Linked DNA regions of Homo sapiens: all the other regions are linked to region 1. Evidence: promoter capture Hi-C in 16 types of primary human blood cells and fetal thymus (Javierre and others, 2016). All regions are on one chromosome and are shown on one strand. Each heading gives the region's core, a stretch centred on a gene start or on the middle of the fragment in contact. The rest is flanking DNA. Distances are from core to core; before and after follow the strand shown. Region 1 holds the start of CDX2 (caudal type homeobox 2). Region 2 overlaps PLUT (PDX1 associated lncRNA, upregulator of transcription). Region 3 overlaps PLUT (PDX1 associated lncRNA, upregulator of transcription).

Region 1 (2,700 bases), core at 147-2,646:
AGACAAGTGCAGGTCTCCAGGAGTGCCGCGAGCGCCCGCGGGTTCTGAGAGCGCTCAAAGCCGCCGAGTCAGGCTGCCCAGCCCGCCGGGCCTCGCCGCAGTGATCCTCATTCCCGAATCTGGCAGCGCTGTCAAAGGCTTGTATTAGGAGGTGAACGGCGGCCGCAGGCCCACTCCACGCGGTTGCTGAAACCGAGCTGGGCGCGCGCGGGGGCCGAATCTCGCCGCCTCCGCGCTCCTGTCGGGGCAGCTCCCGATCCCGGGCTGCGCGGCTTCGGTCCCCAAGACGGCCACTTCCAGCCCTAGGCCCCTTGGCCGCAGCGCTTCCCAAACCAAGAGAGATCCTTTCTCAACTCAGAGCTTTTCATTAGCAGTCGTTAATAATGGCCCTGAGTTGCCTTATCATCTCCTGGAAATGAGAAATAAATTTCTTCGGAGAACGTTTCCCTTTGTAAAGGACAGAGAGTTTTAAAGATACAGGTATGATGTAAGACACATAAATACCTAGGTAAGCATTAGCAGAAATTCTCTTTTCCTTATATTTAAGTATAATAAACATACAAGTGTAGCTCAATGAATTTTCACAAACTGACATTCTGTGTAACCAGCAGCCTAAGAAACTGCTTTACCAACGATCCCCTAGCTCGCCTCCAGTTATGCACGCCAATAACCACTAGCCTAACTTCTACCACATGCCCATTACTTCTGTAGTTTAAAACTTCTGATTCTTGAATGTAAACGTTTAACAATAAATCGCTTGAATTTAACTCAAATTTCAAATGTAAGATGAAGTCAGAGATGCAGCCTGAATCTAGGATCATAATTTGTCTTGTGCGGAGGGCGAGTAATTTCCTTGGGCAAGAAAATAACTGGAGGTGACAGTTGTTTGGGGCTGCAGTCGTCCGGGCCAGGAGCACAGGGCGGGAAGGAATGGCCCATCTCTTAGGGCTCTCTGCTTGTCACCTACCAGGTTGGTCAGAAACGTTCTCATCAAAGCAATGGTTCTCTTTTCTTTTCTCTTTGGGACAGAAGGAGTTTCTTGACCGCCCTCTTCCCTGCAAATGCATAAACAACCACTGCTCCTGTCTCCAAGCTCAGATTCCTACCAAGATAGCCTTTTCTCTTCCCCTCTCTTTTGTAAGTCTCTTGATTTCATTCTTTGAACCTGTGATTGGAGGTTAAAGTGCACCAGGTTGGAAGGAGGAAGCTCTTAACAATAAAGGTTTGAATATTTAGCTGTGTCAGGTCGCTGCCCTCTCACGAGCCTCCCTCCCCTTTATCTTTTAAAATGCAAATTATGTTTCGAGGGGTTGTGCGTAGAGTGCGCGCTGCGCCTCGACGTCTCCAACCATTGGTGTCTGTGTCATTACTAATAGAGTCTTGTAAACACTCGTTAATCACGGAAGGCCGCCGGCCTGGGGCTCCGCACGCCAGCCTGTGGCGGGTCTTCCCCGCCTCTGCAGCCTAGTGGGAAGGAGGTGGGAGGAAAGAAGGAAGAAAGGGAGGGAGGGAGGAGGCAGGCCAGAGGGAGGGACCGCCTCGGAGGCAGAAGAGCCGCGAGGAGCCAGCGGAGCACCGCGGGCTGGGGCGCAGCCACCCGCCGCTCCTCGAGTCCCCTCGCCCCTTTCCCTTCGTGCCCCCCGGCAGCCTCCAGCGTCGGTCCCCAGGCAGCATGGTGAGGTCTGCTCCCGGACCCTCGCCACCATGTACGTGAGCTACCTCCTGGACAAGGACGTGAGCATGTACCCTAGCTCCGTGCGCCACTCTGGCGGCCTCAACCTGGCGCCGCAGAACTTCGTCAGCCCCCCGCAGTACCCGGACTACGGCGGTTACCACGTGGCGGCCGCAGCTGCAGCGGCAGCGAACTTGGACAGCGCGCAGTCCCCGGGGCCATCCTGGCCGGCAGCGTATGGCGCCCCACTCCGGGAGGACTGGAATGGCTACGCGCCCGGAGGCGCCGCGGCCGCCGCCAACGCCGTGGCTCACGGCCTCAACGGTGGCTCCCCGGCCGCAGCCATGGGCTACAGCAGCCCCGCAGACTACCATCCGCACCACCACCCGCATCACCACCCGCACCACCCGGCCGCCGCGCCTTCCTGCGCTTCTGGGCTGCTGCAAACGCTCAACCCCGGCCCTCCTGGGCCCGCCGCCACCGCTGCCGCCGAGCAGCTGTCTCCCGGCGGCCAGCGGCGGAACCTGTGCGAGTGGATGCGGAAGCCGGCGCAGCAGTCCCTCGGCAGCCAAGGTAAGCAGAGGCTGCGCCCCTTCGGAGGGTGCTTGGGAAGGCGCGGGTCGAGCCAGTGGCTGCTGCGCGTCGCGCGTCCAGTGCGCACAGGGGCGTCCCGGGCTGTCTGGGAGCTCGGCGCCAGGAGGGGCACGGCCCGGAGACAAATTCGGGGGCCTCTGGCCCGTCGGGGCTTCTCTGACCTACTGAGCCTGGGAGTGAATATTCTGAGTCTCAACACCGTGTTCAGGCGTCCTCTTTCCAAGAGCTCCTCATTCGCAACCCCGGGACACCTTCGGGAAGCTCCGGGGAATGTCGGCGTGAGCACTGCTGGACGCCGGCAGAATCGCGTCCTCCGGCACTTGCTGCGGCATGCATTCCTTGCGTGGCTCCTGGCCGCCGAGGAGAGAGGGAGGCTCGAACCTTCTTGGGCTAGGTCTAGGCCATTTATCTCCGCTCTCTCTTTCCCCATCTGA
Region 2 (2,718 bases), core at 132-2,631, 130 kb after region 1:
AATTGAAAAGACATTTTTCTCATTAAATTGTCTTGGCACTCTTGTCAAACTTCATTCTCTTTGCTAATTTTCTCAGTTCTGTGTTCTTTTTCTGCTCTTATCTTTATTATTCCCTTTCTTCTAGTTACTTTGGGCTCACTTTGCTCTTCTTTTTCTAGTTTCTTATTGTGGACTCTTAAGTCTCTGTTTTTGTACACCCTCCCACCACCTGACCCAGTATAAGCACTTAAAGGTATAACTTTCTCTCTAACCACTGTTTGCTTACATTCCACAAATTTTTACCTTTTTCATTATCATTTAGTTCCAAGTATTTTCTAATTGCCGTCATGATTTCTTCTTTGACCTATTGATTCTCTAGAAGTGAATTGTTTCATTTCCAAATATTTGGTGTCTACTTATCTTATTGTTTTTAATTTCTATGTAATTCTGTTTTAATCAGAGAATAGGCTCTATAAAATATAAATCCTCTTCAATTTATTGAACCTTGTTTTATGGTCCAGCATATGGTCTATTTTGGTCAACAAACCACATGTGCTTGAAGAGAATGTGTATTCTGCAGTTGTAACTGGTAGATATAGATTCTATAAATAGCAATTATATAAAAGTGGTTAATAGTGTTGTTCAGTCCATCTATCTTTTTCTTGATTTTTTTCTAGCAGCCCTATCCTAAGATATTCATATTCATATTCATCTATGATTGTGGATTATTTCTGTCAATTTTTTCCTCAGGGATATTTAAGCTCTGTTACAAGACACACACCCTCATAGGATTCTTTGTCTTCTTAGTATATTAATGCCTTTATCCTTATAAAAGATCCTTCTTTGGTAATTTTTTTTCTCAAAGTCCATTTTGTCTGATAACTAGATAGTGTGGGGTGGGGGAAAGGGAGAGGGTCAACAGAGCACCCTTCATCCCCACTGAGCGTAGAACCAACTGAGAGGTAAACCTAGCTGTGGGCAGATGGAGATTAAATGTCAGCGTTCGTGCTGATGAAGCCAATCAGAGGCTGTGGCCCTAGATTTGTGTCCAGATGGGCCTGTTAATACTTCCCTCAAAATTAGGTGGCCTTGCACATCCGGTCACTGGCCCAGATGGACAATAGTCAGCCTTTTCCTTTCACCCTCATCCAGGGCAGACAGCAGAAGGCAGAGGGCAGGTAGGTGGATGGACTTCTGAGGCAGAGTGAGGGGCCCAGAGGAGCCTGCCCAATTCTTCCTCTAAAGACCACCAGTAAGTGAAATGAAGAGGCCAGGGGCTGAGGGAATATTCTAGAGAGGGTTTCCACATAGAAACAAGGAGAATGTGCCCCTTCTAAAAGGTCTCTACAGCTATGAGAGCATGTGAGCTTACCCAAGAAGAGTGAAGGGTGAGGAAGGAGAGGACCTGGACCGAGCACTGGGGGCCACCAGCATTCAGAGGCTGGGCTGCGGAGGAAGGTCCCCTGAAGGATATGGAGAAGGGGTCCCCAGGGATGTCATGGAAGCAAAGGAAGGCATTTCAAGGCGGCATTGCCAGCTGCCAAGAGGCTGAGAAAGTTGAGATCCCCTCATGAAAGCCCAGGCTTGTCCACTGGGGTAGAATTTTGGCAAAGAATCTTTCAAGCCACACACTGAGCACACTTCTGACTTCCCCAATTATGGTAGAAAGGAGAATTATTTACCCTGACCTGGGAGGAAGATTTATAGGTTTATAGGCCCTTAAAGTCACAGTACTCAGACTCTGTTTTCCTAATGGTGAATGGCAAAGAAAACAGCGTTCAAAAATAAACGCCGGTAAACGTGGAAGGCTAGACTCCTTCCTGTGGCTTATTTTAACTTTCATATAAGAAAACATAATCGTTGATTACCTTGGCAATATACCATGCCTTATCAAAGGGCTTTAAAGCACTCTCATTAATCCTTTCAATATACTTGGATAAGAGGTGAAAACAAATATGTGTATTTTGGCCTCATCCTAGAGAAAAAGGAGAGAGTTGGAGAGAAGTCGAGGGCTTTTCTCCCAAAATCCTGGGGGATGACGTGGCATCAGCCGTGGCCTATAGTGCACAGGCCAGAAACTGCCCCCTGCAGCTAAAGCACTGGAACAGAAACGAAGAAGATTCATGACTCAGCTGAAGAGAAGTGAAAAGGTGAGCAATTATATAATGAACAGAATATGCGTCATAGAGTCCTCAAATAACAAACTCACATTTCAAACTCTTTCAGGGCAGAAATAATATTTTACCATTCTTTTCATTGTTGACAGTCCCTAGTACAGGCTAAGACCTCAGCAAATATTTCCTTCCTGGCTGATGACACAGGTTGTCTCTCTGTGTGTATGGGAAGAGTATAGAGGGATGTGAATCTTATTCAGTATATAGAATAAGTAGTTTTCTAAGATTTTGTCCATGGAAGTGATGCAATCAGCTCAAATTTGACCAAAATGGTCTAGGCCCGCTGTGGGTTTTCGGAAGGAAACCTAGTAGAAATGAGTGAGATGAGCTTAAAGTATAAAGGAGCTGAGAGCAAACAAAATAAAAGGCTGGAGTCTGTTTACTGCAAAATTGTCTGTTTTTGCATGAAAGTGTATTTTGGGGCACCCATTTGTGCACTCACCCAACAAATATTTATTGAGCACCTATTATTATATGTCATCGTGCTGGGTGCTTGGCAGTTACAAAGATAAATGAGATGGATTTTCTACCTTGAATATGTCATGGTCAAATGAGGATACCCTGT
Region 3 (2,919 bases), core at 89-2,588, 140 kb after region 1:
CTGGAAACTCACTGGCCTCCTAAGACAGCCCAGACAATCTGTGCCATGGAAGGCCACAGGTGCTGTATTCCATGAGGCTGGCAACAATAATCCCAAATGGTACCAGGTGACCTTTGCCTCATGGCCTAGGGAGGCTTTTACTGCTGCACTTGAGACCAGGCTTGGGGAGTGAGTGAGGAGAGGTGGCCTGAGGCTGGGATGCCCTTACCTCTCCATCTAATTGAGAACGCTGAATGGCTTTCTCTTTTTTTCTCCCTTCTCCTTCAATAGAGTCCAACAATTTAGCAAGCTCACCAAGCTGTGTCCTGCTTCATGACTAATTCACATATTTAAATGGGATCGGTCAAAGCAGAACTATTTGATGCCAGCCAAGCGCATTTATCAGGTCAAACTGCTCACAAAGGCTAGAGGCCAGCGTGGGTATGTGGGTGTGTATGGAGTGAATGTGTGGGATCTTTATTTATTTTTAGTCTCAGATTTCAAAAGCAAGGGACCACATCAGAAGCTGCCATTGCTCCCGGGTCCCTCCCAGAGCCTGGCTTGCTCCTGGCCCTGCCTCCCTGTCCTGAACCTCTCCCCCTCCCCCAGCCCTGAGCTGTGTGTCTCTGATGGGGCTTCAGAGAATGAATCTACTCAATTACAGCCCTTTTCACGTGACTGAGCAGTTTCAAAGATGCCACTTTTTATTATTTGGTGACCCCTGACATTGCAGGTGCAGATTTAATGGTGGAAAAGTTGAAATTAGCCAAAATGAACTTTTCCCTCCAATCCCAGCATGGAGAGACGTTCCAGGCTGTTCTAGCTGGAACTGCCATTACTTTGCTGAGTATGTAAGTTATCAAAGTGTTAGGTTTAGCTTAGGGCCAACTGCAGCCCCCATACCCACACCCACCCCAGCTGGATGGGTTCCAGGGCCAGGGGAGGAAAGAGTTAAACAGGCGTAGTGGCTATAATCCCCTTTAACAAAGGAAACTCAGTCTCCTATTTCCCTTTTGGGGTGTCCTCTGCATCAATCCTACAGTGAATGTGTGGCATTGGTCCCCAAGGGTAGCGTCAGGTTCAAGTAAAATGAGCAAACCAAAGTTCATGGCTTCCAGGCTGATAAATGTTGCCGCTACAAGGTCATGATTGATCAGCACACACTGTCGAGATGGATTTCGTGACTGGATGGCTCTCCACAATCAACACCCCTAGCCAGTGACCCATGCGTGTCCACATTTGGGTTTTGTCAGTCGAGCCGCCTCTGCTCTCCCAGCTCAGCCTTTTCAAGCCAACCCATGGCTGGCTTCTCTGGTTCTATTCTGCATCTTTCACTGGAGTCCAGGGAAATAAAGGGCATCTTTTTGTATACATCAAAATGAAGAGTAAACAGTTTTGCATCACCGGGCCTGGGTACCTTTGATGCTGGATTACATTTATGAGCTAAGACATGGCATACTTCAAAGGAAGCCATTCATTCAAGCGACAAGCCAGAGGCTGTGCAAAGACATAGGTCCCTTTCATAAATTACTTGCTTTTTATTTACCAGAAACTCCGGGTATCAGTTCAGTTGCACCTCAGTTGCCTATGCACAAAAAAAAAGCACTGTGGTAACTCAGGAAAAAAAAATGCAGGGTGGAGGAGTGTGATAGAAAGGACCATTAATAGGAAGCAGGCTCTGGGATATCTGTCTTGTAGCTGTGGCGGCTGCCAGAAGCTGAAATCAAACAAAGAATAAAAATCCAGAAGCCTTCCTTTCCCCTCACTTTTTTTGGGGGAAGAGTTGGACGGGGTTGGGGGATAAAAAGAAAAGGAGAGAATCCCTAAGGGTAAACCAGTTGAATGAATATAAATGTCTGAGATTCCCAGGGCTTGGGGGTGGGCACTGGTATGGGGGTGTCCCGTACAGCAGCCCTATGAGACTGGGGGAAGAGGTGGTAAAAATATCCAGATTCCATAGATGAAGCACAATGTAGAAATGTGGGTGTGTCTCCCTTCACTTCTCAAAATCCCTGTGAGTACTTTACTTTTTAAAATTAGGGGCCAGAAAGAGAAAGACTCAGGACTTAATGAACCTCATCAGAGGGGAGTCTCTGCTGTCCTGGAAAAAGCCAGACCCACTGGAGGTCTTGTTTGTTTGCCTGTGTTATGTGGGCTCTCTCTGAGCCACCGAGCTAATGGGAACTGAGGGCAGGAGCAGGGCAGCAGCAAGCACTTTTGGGTTTTGGAGACTAATCACCCCTCCCCATCTCCCCAGGCCCCAGTTGCCCCAGAATCTCCAATGGGCCTTGAGGCAGAGAGTCGGACAAAGCCACTTCTATACGTGCCCCTTTTAAAGCCTTGATCCAGAGGGGACTGGGGGGAGGAGGGGATTTTTTCCAAAACAAAACAAAAAAAGTCGGTGGCTTTCTGCTTTGGAGAGGCCAAACAGGTCCTTTAAAAAGAAAAAAAAAAAAAAACTATATCTCTGAAAAAGTGCAAAGAAATTCTGTTTCCCCGCCAGGGCCAAGGGCTGAGTTTGTGAGTTGCTTGTTTTTCTCTGTCTATTTTCAAGTATTTGGGAGGAGAAGTGTGTGCAGGGCGAAGGCGGCCACGCGAGCCCGGAGCAGCTTTCATTGAGAAGCCACGTGTCCGTCTCCAAAGGACCCTCCAACTTAACCAGCGTCATTGTCCATTTAACCCACATCGGCAGCGTCCTCCCCCATAAAAGGATTTGCAATTTCAAGATATTCTAGCGTAAATGTTTCTGACAGTTCCCCCGCTCTCTGGGCATGAGCGGGGTTATTTATTTCAGCTGTGCCAAATGGGTCACCTTGGAGAGATGTCTGTGCGCAAAGAGCTTCTGCGCGCATTCAGCCTGAATTTTTTCCAACTTTCCTTGACGGGGAAACCAGCTGCTGGTTTGTGAAAAGACGGCTTATTAATTGTTCTTTGTCATGC

The links. The method cuts DNA at HindIII sites, captures the fragments that hold promoters and counts their contacts. A CHiCAGO score of 5 or more calls a contact.
Region 2: a fragment that was not itself captured here is called in contact with the fragment with the promoter of CDX2 in region 1 in 1 of 17 cell types (M2 macrophages); the score reaches 6.0 in M2 macrophages.
Region 3: a fragment that was not itself captured here is called in contact with the fragment with the promoter of CDX2 in region 1 in 1 of 17 cell types (total B cells); the score reaches 5.7 in total B cells.

What each region holds. Positions count from the first base shown.
Region 1 is chr13:27,968,011-27,970,710 of GRCh38, reverse strand. CDX2 (caudal type homeobox 2) reads left to right here and starts at 1,396. Exons shown (of 3, transcript NM_001265.6): 1 at 1,396-2,245. The coding sequence starts at 1,705. RefSeq lists an enhancer at 1,470-2,161. The HindIII fragment of the contact is 4,126 bases long and covers 1-2,700 here.
Region 2 is chr13:27,839,567-27,842,284 of GRCh38, reverse strand. All of the region lies in intron 2 of PLUT (PDX1 associated lncRNA, upregulator of transcription), which reads left to right. Among named protein-coding and RNA genes, the nearest start is that of GSX1, 48 kb to the right of the region's middle. The HindIII fragment of the contact is 7,230 bases long and covers 1-2,718 here.
Region 3 is chr13:27,822,877-27,825,795 of GRCh38, reverse strand. All of the region lies in intron 3 of PLUT (PDX1 associated lncRNA, upregulator of transcription), which reads left to right. Among named protein-coding and RNA genes, the nearest start is that of GSX1, 32 kb to the right of the region's middle. RefSeq lists an enhancer at 2,397-2,919. The HindIII fragment of the contact is 4,198 bases long and covers 1-2,919 here.